Linked DNA regions of Homo sapiens: region 2 is linked to region 1. Evidence: promoter capture Hi-C in human tissues and cell types (Jung and others, 2019). All regions are on one chromosome and are shown on one strand. Each heading gives the region's core, a stretch centred on a gene start or on the middle of the fragment in contact. The rest is flanking DNA. Distances are from core to core; before and after follow the strand shown. Region 1 holds the start of NACC2 (NACC family member 2). Region 2 has its middle 100 kb from the start of KCNT1.

Evidence for each region. Contacts are between HindIII fragments. The study calls those that stand out against the background at their distance.
Region 2: a contact is called between a fragment that was not itself captured here and the fragment with the promoter of NACC2 in region 1, in 1 of the 25 tissues and cell types used here (dorsolateral prefrontal cortex).

What each region holds. Positions count from the first base shown.
Region 1 is chr9:136,092,892-136,098,070 of GRCh38, reverse strand. NACC2 (NACC family member 2) reads left to right here and starts at 2,782. Exons shown (of 6, transcript NM_144653.5): 1 at 2,782-2,882. RefSeq lists silencers at 2,320-2,419, 2,740-2,869 and an enhancer at 4,075-4,766. The HindIII fragment of the contact is 19,137 bases long and covers 1-5,179 here.
Region 2 is chr9:135,802,149-135,807,309 of GRCh38, reverse strand. No RefSeq gene overlaps it. Among named protein-coding and RNA genes, the nearest start is that of KCNT1, 100 kb to the right of the region's middle. RefSeq lists an enhancer at 3,410-4,076. The HindIII fragment of the contact is 4,082 bases long and covers 1,644-5,161 here.

The DNA of each region.
Region 1 (5,179 bases), core at 1,533-4,032:
TGGAGAACAGGGCAGTTGTGGACCAGGAGGGTGGCTCCGACATGACTTTAACACAGAGCTGTTAGGATGGGCACAGACTGGATCTGGCGTGAGATTGGGGTGGGATGTCACCACCTGCACAATGGTAGCAGCACCTGGAGAGCCATCAAAGGCTTCTGCCATCCAGGGGAGGACACGCAGGTGTCCAGGCAAACAGGTTGGTCCTCTGTGTATGACTCCTGAGCGCACCCAGGGGCTCTGCAGTGTCTGCAGATGTGGCTTGTGACCTCCCCTTACCCCCTGCCCAATGCTTTCTGGATGGAAGGGGAAAAATCAAGTTGCAAGGCCGTGAGAACTCAGGCCTGGATCCCGGATGGGGCCTCCCTGAGCTGGAGACCCATAGCAGCGGTGCTGCTATGCTCAGTTGAGACTGTGGCCCCCAGGCCCTTGTAGCAGCCAGGAATCAACAAGATCAAATGCAGGGAGGAGATGCGGAGGATGCACCCGGGGTGAGCCCCACTCAGCCCAGGCCCTGCTGGGGACCCCTGAGTGAGCCCCAGGCTAAGCTGTAAAACGGGAATAAGGCTGGGCGCAGTGGCTCACACCTGTGATCCCAGCACTTCGGGAGGTTGAGGCAGGTGGATCACCTGAGGTCAGGAGTTCAAGACCAGCCTGCCTAACATGGTGAAACCCCGTCTCTACTAAAAATACAAAAATTAGCTGGGCGTGGTGGCACGTGCCGATAATGCCAGCTACTCGGGAGGCTGAGGCAGGAGAATCGCTTGAACCCGGGAGGCAGAGGTTACAGTGAGCTGAGATCGCGCCACTGCACCCCAGCCTGGGCAACAGTGTGAGACTCGGACTCAAAAAAAAAAAAAAAAAAAGGAATAAACAGAGCTCACCTCATGGTACTGTTGTGAACGTTAAATGCGGTAAGGTGTACATACTCAGTAGCACGGGCCTGGAATTCAGTAGGGATGCAGGGTTTGCTTTAAAAGGTGCAAATATATGTTGGTGTACATACGTATAGGCACACAGAAATTGGGGAATTGATTTCTGCTTATCCGCTATCTTCTAAACACTTTTCAATGCTTTCCAAATATCCTTCACTAAGGAAGAATGTCTTTAATATTTAGAAAATAAAAGTGATTAAAACAATCATTCCCATCCCTGGAGGGCCACGGGTCCTAGTGGGTAGCCCCTTGAGGCCTGCCCCAGGGCTGGAAGCAGCTCCAGGCATCTGTCTCTGGGATTCACGATTCTCAGGGGCTTGGGGTAGCTATGCTCACTGAGAGATCCTGCAGAGATTGTAAAGTCAGGCCTAGGAAGCACCAGAACCCTGAGGCTGCTGAGCTCATGCCCTGGGTGTAGGAGGCACTCAGAACCCTCCTACCCCACCTCCTTCCCACAGTAGACTGCGGGGCGGGTTTGGAAGTGGCAGTGGTGGGGGGAGGGGGGTTGGGGTGTGGGACCTGGGACTGCATTTAGGTCTAGATGGGACTCTGTGGGGAGAGCCCAGAGTCCCTGCGGGGTTCCATACTCACCCCCATACAAGGCAAGCCAGGGAGTGAAGTGTGTGTGTGTGTGTGTGTGTGTGTTCTGGACGCAGAGCTGAATAGAACCTAAAGTTGGGGTCAAGGGCCAGTCTGTGGCCAAGATCAAGGGCCTAGCTTGAGGTTGGGGTGACAAGAACCTGGCCAAGCTTCTGATGATTTGTCCAGGGAATGACCTTGGCTGACTGTGCCAGAAGGGCTGTAGCCCCAGGTTTCTGATCCCCAGAGCCCCAAAGGCGTTCTCTGGGATGCTGGTGGCCATCTCCTTCTCAACCCTTCTCCCAGCGCCCTCGCTCGGGACCACTGAGGCGGTATCACTCCATTCTCCTGCAAGGACCCTTGAGCGTGCTGTGGGAGTGAGGCTGGCTTAGCCTCTGAGGACCACTGCAGCCTGTCCTGACCTCAGGCCCCAGGTTAGGGGGCAGCTGAGGAGGGGTCTCTGGGTCTTTCCGGGTGTGTGGCCGTTTTATTTCCGTGCCCTTGTTTTAAAACTGCACCTCTGTCCTCAGGAGCGTGGCCTTGGGCAGATGGAGAGCTGCGTGGCCGGTGCCGGAATGACTGTCAACGCCCCAGTGCGCCCGGATCACACCAGGCCTGAAGGCAGCGCCAGGCCCAGTCCAGGCAGCTTGCAGTTCCCGGGCCGCAGGGACGGGCGCCGGAGCCCCGCAGACGTTCGCCCAAGGGCGCTCCCGTATCCTCGTCTTTCACGGCCCGCCTGAGCGTCCAGGGCGGCTGCGGATGCGCGCACTTCCCCCGCCCGGATCCCGGAGGCTGCACCGTGCGGACGCGACTGCCGCGGGCAGGGCGCGCGCCGGGGGCGGGGTAGGGGGGCCCGGGGGCTCTCCCGGGCTTAGCGAGTCCGGCCGAGGCCGGGGCCCGGGGAGGGCGGAGGGCGGCGCTCCAGGTCCTTTCCCGACCCGGCCGCCGAGCTCCGTCCTCTGCGCCGCGGCGTCCGGCTCCCGCCGGGTGTCCCGCGCAGGGTCGACCGCCGGCAGCTCCGGAAGGAGGACGCGCGAGGGGCGAGGAGCTGCCGCCTCCCCTCCCCAGCGCTCGGGGTTCCCCACGCCCCGCCGGCCCCCACTGGGGACCCTCCCGGCCCCCGGACCCCAGCCCCGACCCCGGGAGCCCACCTGGCTGCCAGTGCGCGCGCGCGCGCGGCCGGCGCGCTGTCCCTTTAACGGCCCGCGGGCACCTCCCCCGCCGCCGCCCCGCCCCCGCCGCGGTGCGGCCGCCGGTGCTGGGCGAGGTCGGAGAAAGTCCATGGGAGCCGGAGCGCCGGGACGCCAAGCACTTCCTGCCGCGGGCGGCGCGCCGCAGCTGCCCAGGCCGGACCGGGCCGGGCGCCCGCAGGTACCGCCAACTTGGCGCGCGCGGCCGCCCCCGGGTTACGCCGCCGGGCGGGGTCGTCCCACGGGCCGGGCCCGCACTTCCCGCAAACTCCGCGGCCGCCCAACTTGGCGCGAGCCCCCTGCCGCAGTGCCGGCCGCGCGGGGCGGGTGCGGCCGAGTTCCGCGCCGGCCCGGGCGTGCGCGCGGGAACCGGCCTCGGGAGCCCGCGGAGGGGGGCCGGGCGGGGCCGGGGGGTCCCGGCGGAGGCGCCCGCGACCCCGGGCCGGGACGCCGCGCCGCGCGTTCGGGGAGACCCCGGCTCCGGGCGTCCCGGGGCGCTCCCCGCCGCCTGCTGGGTTTCCCTGGATTTCTGGGGACCCGCGCGGCCTCCCCAGGGACCCGACTGGCCGATCCAGCCCTCCGGGTGGGGAAGCCGGGGCAGGACTGGCCCGGGGCCAGGGCGGAGGTACCCACCCCTCCCGGCGCATCTGCGCAGCTGCCTGGCCCAGCCGGGCCCGCGCCTCGCCCTCCCGGTCCAGGTGGGCCCGTTCGTGGGTCGTCACCGCCTCCCGCGCCTCCCCCACTCGGGCCCCAGCCTGGGGAGAAACTGGGGTCCGGCCGCAGGGGGAGGGGGCTCTGCCTCTTGCCAGCTTCTGTGCCTCTGCGGAGCTGAGGTCGGGGGGCCCCAGCTCCTTCTCTAAGAAACTCAGCGGAGCCCGGGGCCCGCCGCGCACCCCGCACGGCCAGGGCGGACCGAGGCCTTCCGACGGAGTTTCCTGCTTCTCTTGCTGGGATCGTGTGGGGTCGGAGGTCAGAGGTCACCTCCCAGCCCCTCTGCCAGGCTCTGGGGGAAGTTTGGTCTTGGACTCTCGTCGTGGAGCCGCTTAAACCTGTGGGTCTGAAGGCCGCGAGGCCGGGTCCCTGGAGTTGGCCTCCCAGGCCGTTCCACTCCCTCCCCCAACCCCCGCGCGGGGCCTCCGGATTGGAGGTGTTTCACCCACGTGCTGGTGGGCCCGTCTCCCTGGGCCGCTGGGTGCCCTGAGCTGTGTTCTCTGCTGCGCGTTCCTTCCTGTGTGTGGCGGGGGTGCTGACCCGGGGGTGCCCAAGGCAGCCCGGACTCCCATCCCGTGGAGCTGCCTCCGGGAGCGCGTGCACCTTGGTGTTCCCGCCCGCCAGCGCGGCCGCACTCTCCTGCCAGAGTCCGTGTCCCTCCAGGTCGCCCCTTCTTCTCACCCACCCCTCTTTTCGTCTGGCAGGCTCCTGACCTCCTTCCCTCCTGTTCTCCAGTGGGACACTCAGCTCAGCATTCTGCAGGGTGTTTTAGCCTGTAGCACCCCCCAGCAGGGGCGCCTAGAGTTAGGTCAGGGTTCAGGCAGCCCCCGCCCCACCCGCCACCTCTCAGCCACCCACCCCTTCTTCTCCCGGCCACCGTTGGAGCACCCCTCTGGTCCTCTGTGGGGCCTTTCCCAGCCCCTCCCTTAAAGAGGCCTCTTGGCGTTTTCCCCTGGGGTCACTGTTGGGTGGTAGCTGGGCCAGAGTCCAAGGGGAGGAAATAAAAGGAGCTGCCACCCAAGGTGGTGGCCCCCTGTCCTTTCGGCAAAGCCACTTGGAATGGGCACAGAGAGTGGAACAAGATATCACTTGTCACTTCTTAGTGGCCAGGGATCCTTTCGCAGTGGTCACACCCAGGGCTCGATGGTGCTGGCCCTGGCCTGGCGGGAAGGCGGGGAGGAGCCACCCGGGAGATCTCCTGCTGGGAGCAGTGGGAGCTGGGCTGCTACAGGCTGCGAGAACAGGCTCTGTTCTTTACCACCGGCTGCTGGAAGGGTTCGCAGGGCTGCTCTGCCCTGGGCAGGGGGCTAGTGGTGACTTTTAAAAAATTCTTCAATCCTCCCTTTGTTTTCCAATTAAAGCATGAGGCTGCATTATTCATGAAACAACAGTGACGATCTTGGTGCTGAGCGGTTCTTCCAGGCCTGCACTCCTCTTGGCCTCTGCCTCCGGAGTCCTGCTTTCCTGGTTTGTGGGCAGTGTGGTCTCCCAGGCCCGAGGGATGGAATGGGGAACCAAGGTGTTGTCCTTTTCGGGATGTTGAGTTCCCAAGGTTCCACCTTGTGCCCCTTCCTCTGAGGTCTGTGCCTCTGACCTGTGTCCCTGGAACGCACAGGGCACCGAGTGCCCAGTGGCCCCAGCCACCGTCAGTGGGGCAGAGCCCATGTTCCTTCCTCAGCCAGCCCTGTTCTAGCCACCTCCACACACTGTCCCCAGGCTGCCTCTCTGCATCTCACAGCCCCTTGGGGTCACTCCATCCCCTTTGCA
Region 2 (5,161 bases), core at 2,435-4,934, 290 kb after region 1:
GGCACACGGGGATGATGCTTGCGGGATCCATGTTGCTGCCACAGGGCAAGGTCAAGAAAAGCCCACATGGCACCCGGCTTGCTTACTCCCAGTTGGAGGAGATCTCGTGTCCTTTCTCTCTCATTGTGGAAAGAATGATACACATCCTTCTAGTTTCATGCTATCATGAAAAGTAAGTTCTCTTTATAGTTGAAATGATTAATAACACGGTGGTTTAGATGGAGACTCCTGTATGATAGGCGTGCTGGCAGAGGCACCGGCTGTTGGAGTTGGGCCCAGAGGAGCCCAGTGGGTGCTCGCTTTGTGTCTTCCCCGTGCAGCCCCTGGGCCTGCGTCAGTGTGCACTGTGGGGTGCTGACGCTTCGGGATGGGCATTTAAAGTCTTGGGTTTTTTAGGGCCGAGTGTGGTGCCTCATGTCTCTAATCCCAGCACTTTGGGAGGCTGAGGTGGGCAGATTACCTGACAGGTCAGGAGTTTGAGACCAGCCTGGCCAAAATAATGAAACCCCATCTCCGTTAAAAATACAAAAATTAGCCGGGCGTGGTGGCGCGCGCCTGTGGTCCCAGCTACTCAGGAGGCTGGGGCAGGAGAATCACTTGAACCTGGGAGGCGGAGGTTGCAGTGAGCCGAGATCGCGCCACTACACTCCAGCCTGGGTGACAGAGCGAGACTGTCTCAAAAAAAAAAAAAAAATCTTGGGTTTTTTAAAAAGTGATTTTTTTAGTTGAACTGATAAATCTCTCTAATTTCCGTTTTTTCCAGGACACCTTTTTTTATTTCCTTTTATGCCAGGTGGTAAATTTTTGTTTTCATTATAATGCAATCCATATTCTTTTAAAATTTAAAGTAGAACATACTTAGAGAAAAGCAGATCCCGAGCATCCATCTCAATAAACTTTTGACAAAGTGCTTGTTCTGGTTTTAAAATCAGTGGTTCCCAATATTTGTCACCAAAGTTCCCCCCATAATATTTTGCTTCTAAATTATATTTATGGATACATATTTTTGCCCTATTTTAGTAGACATTTAACTACCAGTACAAGTGGGCCAGCTGGACAGTCCCTGTGGCCCGTTAGAGGTGCTGGGAAGGCGGAGTGTTGGGTGTATGGTGGGCACGCGGGTTTCTGTTCCGGTATTGGCATTATTTCTGTGTATGTTTCTCCAAGTCGGACTCTTGTTCAGCTTGCAGGTTGCCGTGTGGTTGCGTGGGTAGTGTTTCCTCATCCCAGGAAGTCAACTTGGTGGGGCACAAGCGTTGTCATTCCTGGGGAAGAGACTCCCGGCTGCTGGCTGGCTGCAGACTCGGTCCTGGAGGCAGACCTGCTGGTTGCCTGGGCATTTGGTGTTTATTTTCCTTGAGGATGACTTTTGCTGTCGTTCTTCCATTACAGTCTTCAAGGGCCAGAGGTGGACAGTGTAGCCCCCAGGTGGCACACAGCCAGGTGAGGGGACGCGGGGACCCATTCGCACCCGCAGGCAGCACAGCAGGGCCTTTTCCTTGGTGGGCTGTGGTTGGCTCTTAGATCGTGTTGGCTGCACCAGGCGGTGTAGGTAAATGCTGGTGAAGCCTCCTGTTGGGGTGAGGTCAGCGACACCGCCCTTGCTCCTTCAATAGAGGAAGCCTGTGTTATGTACCTCAGCGTCCCCTGCGGCCCACAGGATGTGGTGATGTGGTGGCGGTGGCGGTGGAAGGGGAAGGGGAGGGTGCGACCACCCTGAGCTCTGCAGTGCGGGTCAGAGAGCAGCGGTGGGCCAGTGGGCAGAGGCCAGGCCATCTTCCCTGTGGGTGCTGGGTGAGTGCCAGTGGCCGGCACACGGGACAGTCAGTGCGTGGTGAAGATGCTGCCCTGGGCCCGGGTCTTGGTGGAGCGTCTGTGCCTGGAAGCCTCCTTGCTGTAAGAGTGCCACCATGTTCTCAAGGGAAGGGGCAGCGCTTTTCAGGAAGGAATGGTAGCCACGGAGTAGTCAGACAAAATTAGCCTTATAAGAACTGTGGGCCTATCTGTTAGGGAAAGAAAAGAAATGAGATCACCACTTAAAAATGTGTGACTATTTTAGCTACAAATCGGGTTTTTAAACTAAGCTGTAAAACTTCAAGTCATTTGGTGCAAAGGCTGTGTCTGAATGGTGGAGACCATGGGGCTCCCGGCCTGAACCCTGCCTTCCAGGCGCAGCGAGGGCCTGTGGGCTGCAAGTGGCTCGGGAGCGCTCTCTGGAGGGCCCTGGTACACACACCAGGCCAGACATGGGGTGAGGCGGTGGCACCCTGAGCCTTGTGGTTAAGAGTCCCAGCCCTGGGCTGGGCACACTGGAGAGGGCTATTCCAGTCAGCCTCCCACTAACTTCTTCAGGAGGAGGCTTGGGAGGGCTGGGGGGCCCGTGGCAGGCATGGGAGCCGTGTTGAGCGAGGAACAGGGGTCAAGCCCAATGGTAACCACATCGCGAGGACTGTTCTGAGGGTGGCGGGCAGGTACACAGGGCAGAGCCCATGGCGTGCCAGGCTGGCAGTTCCTGTAGAGCAGCCGTGTCACGAACACCGCCTGTGAACACACTCTTGTGTTTGGCACCTCATCCCCCGGGAGCCTGTTGTGGGTGGAGCAGTCTTGTGAGTGTGCAGACTTCGACCTGGTGCTGGGAGGGGGGCGACAGCAGACGATTGGTGGTTAGGCTGAGGGTCACCTCCCCACACTCTGTCTGTTAGAGACAGCACCGGCCACACCCTCCCTGCAGAGCACTTGGGCGAGGTGTGGACCCAGCTGGAAAGTGGGTGGTGGAGGGTCCGTTTATTGTTTTGAAGATGAATCTGCTTTTTTTTTTTCTTTTTGAGATGGACTGTCACTCTGTCGCCTAGGCTGGAGTGCAGTGGTGCGATCTCAGCTCACTACAACCTCTGCCTCCCAGGTTCAAGTGATTCTCCTGCCTCAGCCTCCCTAGTAGCTGGGATTACAGGCACACGCCACCACGCCTGACTAATTTTTGCATTTTTGGTAGAGACAGGGTTTTCACCATGTTGGCCAGGCAGGTCTCAAACTCCTGACCTCAGGTGATACGCCCACCTCGGCCTCCCAAAGTGCTGGGATTACAGGTGTGAGCCACCAAGCCTGGTCTGAATCTTCTTTTTTGTCTGAGAATTCAGAAGCAAATGGGGTTTCCTCCATTTATGGAGAAGCTGCAGGCCTGTCTTCTGTGCTTTCAAATAAAAACTGGTAATGTAGATCTTGTTTTAGAAGCCCCACAGAAGTAGCATTTCAGCCTCGGAGGATTAGGGTACAAAGGAAAGGCCTCATTCTGAAGTGCGAGGCAAGGGGTGAGGAGGGTTTCCCACAAGCCTGGCTGGGGCTGTGGTGGGGGCCGGTGCCCCTCTTCCCGGAACATATCCAGGTGGGTGCCCTGCAGGAAGCTCTGGGCTGCAGTCTCTCCTTTGGAGTTAATTTCCTTGCCCTGCACTGGAAGTGAATTGATTGCATACACAGCCCTTGCTATATATATATGCTTTCCTTGAAAGTATCAGCTGTGCAAAGAGTTCAGAAATGCACAGGAGAGAACAGAACAGAAAACTGCCCACCCTGCCCTGCCCCTTCCCCACAGCACATGGCTGTTGGTATCTCCGGACACTACGCCCACCTCCACACCCTGCACCCCACACCGGAGTCACCGCGTAAGCAGGTGCACCTTGCGCCAGTGCTTACCAGCCCTGCCCGCCTGGAGCTTACAGGCCGGCCAGTGCACAGGCAGATGAGGATAGCAGCATCCACTGACAACTTGGTATTTCACGGAATCTAAGGTGTCCTTCATTTTAAGATACATCATCATTTTGTGCCACCAAGAAATGCTGCCCATCAAACTATGCCACGCTGTTGATGTTAAGATGGTCTGCTTTCAAAGATGTTGAAGTGTGTACGGCACTGATGGGGGTGTATGTCTGGGCCTCAGTGGAGCTCACGGGGGTGGGGCGGCTATTTGAGAAAGTGGCAGGAGGAGAGGAGCTGTCTGCCCAGCTGGGGTGGAGTCGACGGCCTGAGGATGACTCGGGGTCCTCCCCGCATGGCTTATGGAGCAAGCCTGGACGTGCTCGGGTCTCAGCAGGTGGGGGAGTATCTGCCCAGAGCTTGCCCTGTCCCAGGCCCCTCCCGGCACCGCCACTGCGCTGCTAAGCCTGTCTCCAGCCCCAGGCCTGTGTCCTGGGAGCACGGGCCGGGGGCTGGGATGTGCTGGGCCCGTGTGGGATTCTCAGGGCCCCAGGATTGGACTTTTCCTGGACTGGTGGGTGTGATGTGGGTTGTCACTGCTTTCTCTGTTCCTTTCCCGGGCACTAGGGAGGTTGACTTGTGTTTTCAAATGGGGATGGGCCTAACACGCTGCTGCTTCTGGGAGATTTCCGTTCACTTCCCTGGCCCACTTTTAATGAGGTTGTGTTAATTGGGTGGGCTTTTTTCCTGTTGATTCATAGAACTTCTTTGAGTGATCAAGAGGACAGGGCGCCTCTCCTTTTGTGAGCAGCAGACGTGCCAAGCTGGGGCTCCTCTGTGTGGCGTTGGCATTTGAGACACACCACACGCTGCCCAGTGCCTTCGATTGGCATTTTTTTTTTTAAGACAGTCTCACTCTGTCACCCAGGCTGGAGTGCAGTGGCACGATCTCGGCTCACTGCAACCTCCACCTCCCGGGTTCAAGTGCTTCTCCTGCCTCAGCCTCCTGAGTTGCTGGGATTACAGGTGCACGCCACCATGCCCGGCTAATTTTTGTATTTTTAGTAGAGACAGCATTTCACTATGTTGGCCTGGCTGGTCTTGAACTCCTGACCTCGTGATCCACCCACCTCGGCCTCCCAAAGTGCTGGGATTACAGGTGTGAGCCACCGCGCCCAGCCGATTGGCAGTTTCTTGATGGCAACAGAAGTGGAGCCTATTTACATCTTTTTTTGGTCACGGAGTTTCCTCCTGTGAAGTGTCTGTAGAAGCTTTTTGCCTGTTTTTCTCCTGAGTCATCTTTTCCTAATTTATAGAAGATACATTTTTGAAAGACAATATACAGAAGGTATAAATATCTTCCATTCTGTGACTTTTCAATTTTTTTTGTTTGTGGATACACAGAAGTTTTTAAGATTTTGTGGCCAGATTGTCAATGTTATTAGCGTTTCAGAAATCTAAGCCGGGCGTG